Regions from separate parts of the Homo sapiens genome. Here all the other regions are linked to region 3. The links are contacts of gene promoters, found by promoter capture Hi-C in blood cells and fetal thymus (Javierre and others, 2016). All regions are on one chromosome and are shown on one strand. Each heading gives the region's core, a stretch centred on a gene start or on the middle of the fragment in contact. The rest is flanking DNA. Distances are from core to core; before and after follow the strand shown.

Region 1 (2,700 bases), core at 3-2,502, 210 kb after region 3:
TTCCAAGCCTTGGCCGGGCATGGTGGCTCATGTCTGTAATCCCAGCACTTTGGGAGACCAAGGTGGGAGGATTGCTTGAGCCCAGGAGTTCAAGACCAGCCTGGGCAACATAGTGAGACCTCATCTCTAAAAATAAAAATAAATGAAAATCAAATCCCAAGCCAGTCTTTTTTCTTGCTCTCCCAAGCTGTTTTGAACTAGCTTGGGATGTCTTCCCTGTTCTTCCCCAGAAAGCCTCATCATGTAAGTCAGGGGCGTCCAATATTTTGGCTTCCCTGAGCAACACTGGAAGAAGAATTGTCTTGGGCCACACATAAAATACACTAACACTAACGATAGCTGATGAGCTTAAAAAAAAAACAACTAGCAAAAAAAAAAAATCTCAAAATGTTGTAAGAAAGTTTATAAATTTGTGTTGGGCTGTACTTAAAGCCATCCTGGGCCACATGCGACCCGCAGGCTGTGGGCTGGACAAGCTTGATGTAAGTAATAAACATGTGCATGCTCTCTTGGTATGTGTGATGGCGTCAATCTTGACATCCAAACTAAATTTAGGGTGGGGATCCACCTTGCTTCTGCAAGGTAACCACAGCATCTGGTCTCTTGCCATTAAAAGAATTCTCCACATCACTGCTGGAGTTATCTTTCAGAAAACTCGCTTTGCTCGGGTTCCAGATTTGTGCCATGATGTCCCTCGGTTCCCCTCCCTACAATCCCAGTAGTGCCAGAGCACTCTGCCCCACTTAACCTTGTCAGCCTCATCTTCCTCCACCTTTCCTCTCACACGCCTCAAGGGGCAATCACACCACAGTGGTGATGCTACAAAGCACTGATAAGTTTATTTCCAATGTATTCCCACTGCCTTCTTCTTTCTCACTGAAAAGCTCAAAGAAACCACAAAGAAACCAAAGCACTTCTATAGTTAAACAAAATCTGAAAGCAGACCAGCAGACCTCGTTTTCCTGCCCTCTAAGACCAGACAATAGCGGGGCTGGGGAAGTGGAAAGGATCTGGTGGAAGGAAAGTGAGGAGACACAGGAAGAAGGGAAGAGGAGAAAGAGCAGAGCCTCAATCAAGAGGCACTTCCCTTCCTCCCAGCCCAGCTTCACCTCTGTCAGGCCTTTTCTGATCTTCCCTCTTTGGGGCTCTCCTGACATACCACTCACACTTATTTCATTGTGATATTGTTGGTTGTTCATGTTTGTTTACTCCACTGGGTCAATGGCTTCTTAAAAGTGGGGAGTGCGCTTTAGTTGCCCCACATCCAAGGCACACAGGGCTGGCAGGCCTCCTGCCATACACTACTAAATTATTAATTTTTAGAAATCCTGCAATTAACTTAAGATCATATGATAATATGACACTGCATTTTTAGTAGACTGACAAGCATTATTTTTCAATGTAAGCATTGTGAATATCTCAGTGAGCTTGGAACTTTGTTTTCTTGTTTCTGCTTTTCACAGTTCCAGGAACTCTGAAGTGGCCTGTGGCTCCCTTGATCTCCAACAACCCCTGTGCATACATCAAAGTCCTAGACAGAAAATGTTCAGGAAATAACCACTGATCAGTTGCTACCTCAATGCAAAATTCCTTGAAGATGGACCAATGCCAGAAGCCAGTGGTTTTCCTACAGGAAGAGAAACTTGATACTTCTCCCTGTCTTTTCCAGCCCAGATGAAAGGGCACCATATGCCCATACTTATCCCATAAGGCAGGTCCCAGCCTCCTGAGCCACTCTGCAGTGATTTTTTCCTAGCATGTTTCTCCCATGGCTACTAACCACCTGTGAGACCCAGGCAGTAAGTATTCCAGTTCCAAGCAGTTTATGGCACAGTAGGAAGTAGGTTCTGCCTTTTACAATGTGTGACCCTTAGGAAGCTCCCTTTCCCTCCCTAAGAGCTCAATGTCTTCATTATAGAAAGGAAATTATAATAACGTCTGCCCTAGTCACCTTGCAAGAATGCCTTTAGTATTAAACTAGAGAAATAACAGTTGTGGAGAGGTTCATAAACTGTCCAAGGGCCATGCAAAAGCTTTACTCTTAGCTTCTCCTTTGTAAGTGGATGAGCCTAGCTTGCCAAGGAGAATAGTCCCGTTTGCATGCCAAAAACACTTGACACAGCATATACTCCCTACGAAATGAAGCTAGAATTAATAATGCACAGAGGTGTAGGCACGCCCAAGTGCATTGTCTAGTAGGACAGGCTTTTGCAACCTTTTTTATAACGCAATCCATCTTTTGAAAAAAAGAAAATCTCGTTCCTTCCTTTTATCTTATTTGAAATTCCAAATAAGTAAAATAATCATAATCATTAAATATCATGATTCCAAGATGACCCCCTACTACTCTCCCTCGCCAGCTGAAAACCACTTTTGGGGTTATTAGCTATCTTGTTTCCAGATGAGGCATTTATAACACAAGCTAACACTTATTACAAATGTATATGTGTCAGGCCCATTTCTAAACTTTTACAAATCCTAACTCAGGAACTAGCAGCACCTCTATGAGATCCATATTCTTACTTCTCCCATTTTATAGATGAAAGACCTGATGCCCCCTCAAAAGAGGAAAAGTTGGCCGGGCAGGGTGGCTCACGCCTGTAATCCTAGCACTTTCAGCGGCCGAGGTGGGAGGATCACCTGAGGTCAGGAGTTCGAGACCAGCCTGGCCAACATGGTGAACGCTCATCTCTACTAAAT
Region 2 (2,700 bases), core at 141-2,640, 180 kb after region 3:
GCGCTGTCCTCTGCCCCTCAGTCCCTGACAACTTGAGCCCCAGGCACACTGTCCTCCTTTGCGCTGTTCCCTGTCATCACCGTGGCTTCTTCATTGTCTCCTGAATGATCTGTGCAGACCTCCAGCCCAGCAGTCCTTGACCTGCTCATTTCCAATCACCAGGTCTTCCTCTCAGTCTCCACCACCCGTGCCTCTGTGATCAGGCCACTGTTCTTATCATCCCCAATAACGATGCTACATCCAAAATCTAAGCTGCAAGCATCTCACTCTTATTTCACACATATTTGCATGGCAAAGCCTTAATACCAGTTCAATCCACCTGTGGGGCTCTTTTGGGTGCTGTCATCTCAGCAACTAAACTTGGTGAGAGGAAAACGCCACTGTGCCGATTGGTCCCACGTGGAGTAACAGCTAACATTTCTATGCCGTGTGGTGTGACCAGGGCACACGCTAAGTGTATTACCTATAGTGACTAATTAAATCCTAACAAAACCCATATGCATTAGGTACTATTGTATTAACCCCATTTCACAGGCAAGTAAACTGGAGCCTGTAGGGACATTAAGCAGCCTGTCCAAGGTCACACAACAATTAGGTGACAAAAAACAGGATTTGCCCTCAGGCAGTCTAGCTGCAGAATCCTTTTCTTTATAATTCCACACACTTGCTCCTCTATCTCCAAGTCAATCAACAGAGGTAGTCCAACCAACACTTCTCCCTTCCTACTCTTTTCACTTTTCCACTCCCCAAGCAACTCTTTCTTTTTTTAATATTATATTTATTTTAGATTCAAGGGTCCGTGTGCCTGTTTGTTACGTGGGTATATCGTGTCATGGTGGGCTTGGGATCCTGGTGAACCCATCACCCAAAATATTGAACTTTGTACCCAACAGGTAATTGTTCCACCCTCACCCTCCTCTCATCCTCCTCCCTTTTGGAGTCCACAGTGTCTGTTATCTTCACCTTTATGTCCATGTGTACACATCGTTTACCTCCCAGTCATAAGTGAGAACATGTGATATTTTATTTTCTGCTTCTGGGTTAGTTTACTTAGAATAATGGCTTCCAGCTCCATCTATATTGCTGCAAAGGACAGTCTTTCATTCTTTCTCATGGCTGCATAGTATTCCATGGCATATATATGCCACATTTTTCTTATCCAGTCAACCATTGGTGGACACTTAGGTTGATTCCATGACTGCTATTATGAATAGTGCTGGGATAAACATATGAGTGCAGGTGTCTTTTTGATAAAATGATTTATATTCCTTCAGGTAGATTCCCAGTAGTGGAACTGTTGTGTCCAATGGTAGTTCTATGTTTAGTTCTTTAAGAAATTTTCATACTTTTTTCAATAGAAGTTAAATATTTTATATTCCCACCAAGCAACTATTTCAAACCTCCTCTTCACCTCCTTCTCCTTCCATTGTAGGTTGTCTTTGTCTTGCCCGGCTTTGAGAAAAATCCAAGAATCCATCAAGAACTCCCTCATCTCCCACCATCACTCGTACCAACTCTCCACCATAAGCTCCCCTGCACTATGCCTTCCTTCCCACTACTATGAATGAGGCATCTGTATTCCTGTCAAAGAACACCTCTCCACTTGCAGCTCAGGCCTCTCACCCTCCACCTTCCAAAATGCAATGGTCATGGATAGAGTTGAGCACTCACTCTCACATTCTTGAAATGTTCTCCCACCTGGTTTCCATGATGCCACAGGAGTGGAATCCCACCATCACTCAGCAAGCTCCTTCTGTCTCCATTGAGGATTTCTAGTTCCCTTCTTTTTTTTTTTTTATTTCCACACATCCCCAAAGTGATGGCAATCAGTTTTGTGGCTCTACATCTCATCAATTTGCCACATCTAACTAGACTGACTTCTTTCCCAAAGTCCAAATACATATATCCAACTGCCAATATACTACATCTTTATTTGTATATCTAATAACCTCTCAAACTTTTCATGGTTCAAACAAACTCTTGACCTTACTCCATAAAATGTTCCTCTCTGGTCTCTTCCATCTCAGAAAGAGGCATCATCATTCATCGAATTGCCCAGTTCAAACATCTAACATCTCTTTCTTCTTCATTCAATATCTCCAGCCCATTATCCTCCCCAAACCCAGCATGATTTAACTTCTCTACACCACCAGCCTCCTCTAAGACATCAACATCTACTAACTGAACTACTGAACACCTGCTACTGGTCTCCCTGCTTCCACTCTTGTTCCCCTATGATATGATTTGGCTATGTCCCCACCCAAATCTCAACTTGAATCGTAGCTCCCATAATCCCCACGTGTTGTGGGAGGGACCTGGTGGGAGGTAACTGAATCATGGGGGTGGGTTTTTCCCGTGCTGTTCTTATGATAGTGAATAAGTCTTACAAGATCTGATGGTTTTATAAAGGGCAGTTCCCCTGCACATGCTGTCTTGCCTGCTGCCATGTAAGACGTGCTTTGCTTCTCCTTCACCTTCCGCCATGAATGTGGAGACCTCCCCAGCCATGTGGAACTGTGAATCCATTAAACCTCTTTCCTTTATAAATTACCCAGTCTCGGGTATTTCTTCATAGCAGTATGAAAATGGACTAACACACCCTACAACTCCTTCTCCAAAGAGGACCCAGAGTGATTATTTTTAAACATGATCAGATTAAATCATCCCCCTGCCTAACATTCCCCCCTCCATTTAGAAGCC
Region 3 (2,700 bases), core at 17-2,516:
ATATGTACAAAGCAGTTAACATCGTGTCTGCAACATAATAAGGGCCCAGTGCCCAAATTGCCACCACTATTATTATATCACATTTAACTCTCACATCAACCTTTCAGGGAAGACCTGACCACCTCTGCACTAAAGTAGCTTGTAACTCTGATAGGTAGGTAGGTAGGTAGGTAGATAGATAGATAGATAGATAGATATAGATAGATAGATAAAGATTTATAAATGAAAGTGCATATGCAAGTAGAAAAAAAAGTCTAAAGACATGGCAGTGTTTTCTTTCCTCCACAGGTCATTTTATAAGTTAGATTTGCTCTAGAAATTATTACTTTGTTTTATGCCATTTGGACATTTATTTATTTAACCAACACTTATGTGATCACAACATACTCAGGACTGTTCTAAGTAAGCACTTTAGAAATATGAGCATATCTAACTCAGGGTTTTCTTTCCCTTCCTTTGTGATTTTCAAATAAACTTTTTAATAAAGTCTAATACACATACAGAAAAGTGCATATATTGGGTGCTACAGCTCGCTTCTTCCTTTCTTTTGAACCCAATAGTTTAATCAATAACCACCCAGGTCACAGCCACACCATATACTGCCAGACAGGTAAACCCAACCCATCTGTCCCTCACTGCCTCTGGCCTCCTGCCTGGTTCTCAATGGTGGCAGAGGAAGTGCTACTCAGTGCCTGCTGACCAGGCTTGCCACACCCAGAGCCCGGCTGGCCAAGGCTCTGCCACAGGTGGCAGCTTCTCCCTAACCTGCTTACCAAGGCCACCTGCCAGCTGTGTGTGCACAGCTATTTTCCATGGGGGAAAAAGCATCTAGATTCCTTTCTTCCTTTCAATCTGGATGCATTAGGGTTTCTAGATGCTCTCAGATGGCCCCCCACCTCCCCAGCCAGAGTATATATCCACCTTTTAACCAAGGATATAAAAAGCCCTCTGAATCTCCAGTCAATTCCAACACAAATGCACCATCTCTCCTGCAATCCTTTTCATTTGCGGCTTGCAGGGGGTGGGAAATTAGGCAATTCTTGTAAAGCATAGGCACACATCACCCAGAGGCACAGTTTGCCAATAAAACTCACCCGGCCAAACAGCGTAACCCCTTCTTCCAAGCAGATTTCTTTGCAGCCAAATGCAAGGGATGTTAAGGCAAGACCCTCCCCACAGGGCAGTCAGAGACCCGCAGCCGACAGACTAAGCCTGCAGCTTCCAACCAGGCTCCCCGAGATGTTCCCTGGTGGTGCTCCCTGTAACTGAAGCCAGACCAGGCGTCTTTCCAGTTTATTCAGGGGCTGGTCCAATGCTGGGATATGTCATGGTGGCCTGAGAGGTTCTCAGCCTCTATTATTTAAAGAGACAGTGTCCAACTTTGTTTGCTTTCCAGAATACAATAATCCCAAGAGGCCCTGCAGGGCATGGAGAAACTGGAATCAGAAGGGAGAAGAGCTTTGAGTATGCCTGAAGCCTGTGATGCCAAGACTGTTCTCTCTGGAAGTGCCAACCTGTGTAATAGCCAAGAGGTCCCACTGGCTCCCCTCCCCTCCCAGTGAATTCTGCAGAGATTAAATATACTGTGGGAAGGATCTGTGTCTACAGTGTTACATACGTGCAGGTAAGTTTTATTTTAAATAAACTTCCTTTTAAGGAGCCCAAACATTGCACAGCTAATCTCTCACAGCATCACAGCAGTGAGCCAAATGTCTCAAGAGTCACCAAATCAAGCCTCCTTTGTTCCAACCCCTGGTTGGAAGGACTCCCTGTTACCTGCCTTGTCTGCCTAGACCCCATCGCAAATGATCACATGTGTTGTACATTAGAATAAAACTTAGGGAAATGTGTTCTTCCGACTCTGTCTTTAATGTGCCCGAATCAAGCTGACCTTCATGAGATAATTCAATGCAAGTAAACGAACCTCTATTGAAAACTATTGAAAACTTTCTAACCTGTCAGGCAGAATAGGCTGGAAGAGCAATTGGAAATTCTTGGAGAGGGAAGTAAAGGAAGTTATGGCATATTTAGGTTCTTTGCAGCGTACCACTCCAGCTCCCAGAGAGTCCTCCATCCCTTGAACCGCTTCTAGCTGCAAACTCTGACACAAGAGGACTGGTTTCATTGCATGAGTTTCCTGGAATTCTGGCACTTGGGGCATAAGACTTCCTCTTGTGTTAGGGATCCCCAGTCTGGAGAGACCTGCAGAATTTGGAGGAGTCCCTCCCTGTCACACACTTTACGTTTGATTGGACTCTCCAGTCACAAGGGCCTCTCAATGGCCCTCTCCCCTGTTCTGCCCACAGCCAGCATCTGCTCACAGCCAGCATCACAGCCAGTGCCAATAAAATAGTTTCACCTTTCTCTCTTTGCTGAAATCATTTTTATTTTTCACAGCAGTGGTTCTTTAGAATCACTCAAGAGCTTTGCAAATGACCTAGCCTGGGCCATGGTCAGAGAAGCTGACTCAGGTGTTTTGGGATGGGGCTCAGGTATGGGTAATTTCCAGTGTCTTTCTCCCCGCTGGATGTTTCGTTGTCCAGCCAGGTTGTCATGTGGAGTTAGATTGTCGCTGATTTCCTTCCAGCTCCCTTCTGTTGTGGAACCCAAATGGAGATGAGGTACAGTGTGGGCTGCTGCAGTATTATGCAAGTTATAAGTCTGTTCTGCCAGGCAAAACGGTGTGTGTGTGTGCGCGTG

Evidence for each region. The method cuts DNA at HindIII sites, captures the fragments that hold promoters and counts their contacts. A CHiCAGO score of 5 or more calls a contact.
Region 1: a contact is called between a fragment that was not itself captured here and the fragment with the promoter of PMP22 in region 3, in 11 of 17 cell types (endothelial precursors, erythroblasts, M2 macrophages and 8 more). The highest score is 13.3, in endothelial precursors.
Region 2: a fragment that was not itself captured here is called in contact with the fragment with the promoter of PMP22 in region 3 in 1 of 17 cell types (endothelial precursors); the score reaches 8.5 in endothelial precursors.

What each region holds. Positions count from the first base shown.
Region 1 is chr17:15,478,285-15,480,984 of GRCh38, forward strand. All of the region lies in intron 4 of TVP23C-CDRT4 (TVP23C-CDRT4 readthrough), which reads right to left. Among named protein-coding and RNA genes, the nearest start is that of CDRT3, 8.8 kb to the left of the region's middle. The HindIII fragment of the contact is 1,557 bases long and covers 475-2,031 here.
Region 2 is chr17:15,448,791-15,451,490 of GRCh38, forward strand. All of the region lies in intron 4 of TVP23C-CDRT4 (TVP23C-CDRT4 readthrough), which reads right to left. The region is part of intron 2 of CDRT4 (CMT1A duplicated region transcript 4); the gene reads right to left. Among named protein-coding and RNA genes, the nearest start is that of CDRT4, 17 kb to the right of the region's middle. RefSeq lists enhancers at 1-32, 33-532. The HindIII fragment of the contact is 2,897 bases long and covers 1-2,700 here.
Region 3 is chr17:15,264,060-15,266,759 of GRCh38, forward strand. PMP22 (peripheral myelin protein 22) reads right to left here and starts at 1,267. Exons shown (of 5, transcript NM_000304.4): 1 at 1,095-1,267. LOC124903931 (a long non-coding RNA gene) reads left to right here. Exons shown (of 2, transcript XR_007065632.1): 2 at 1,397-1,850. The HindIII fragment of the contact is 20,659 bases long and covers 1-2,700 here.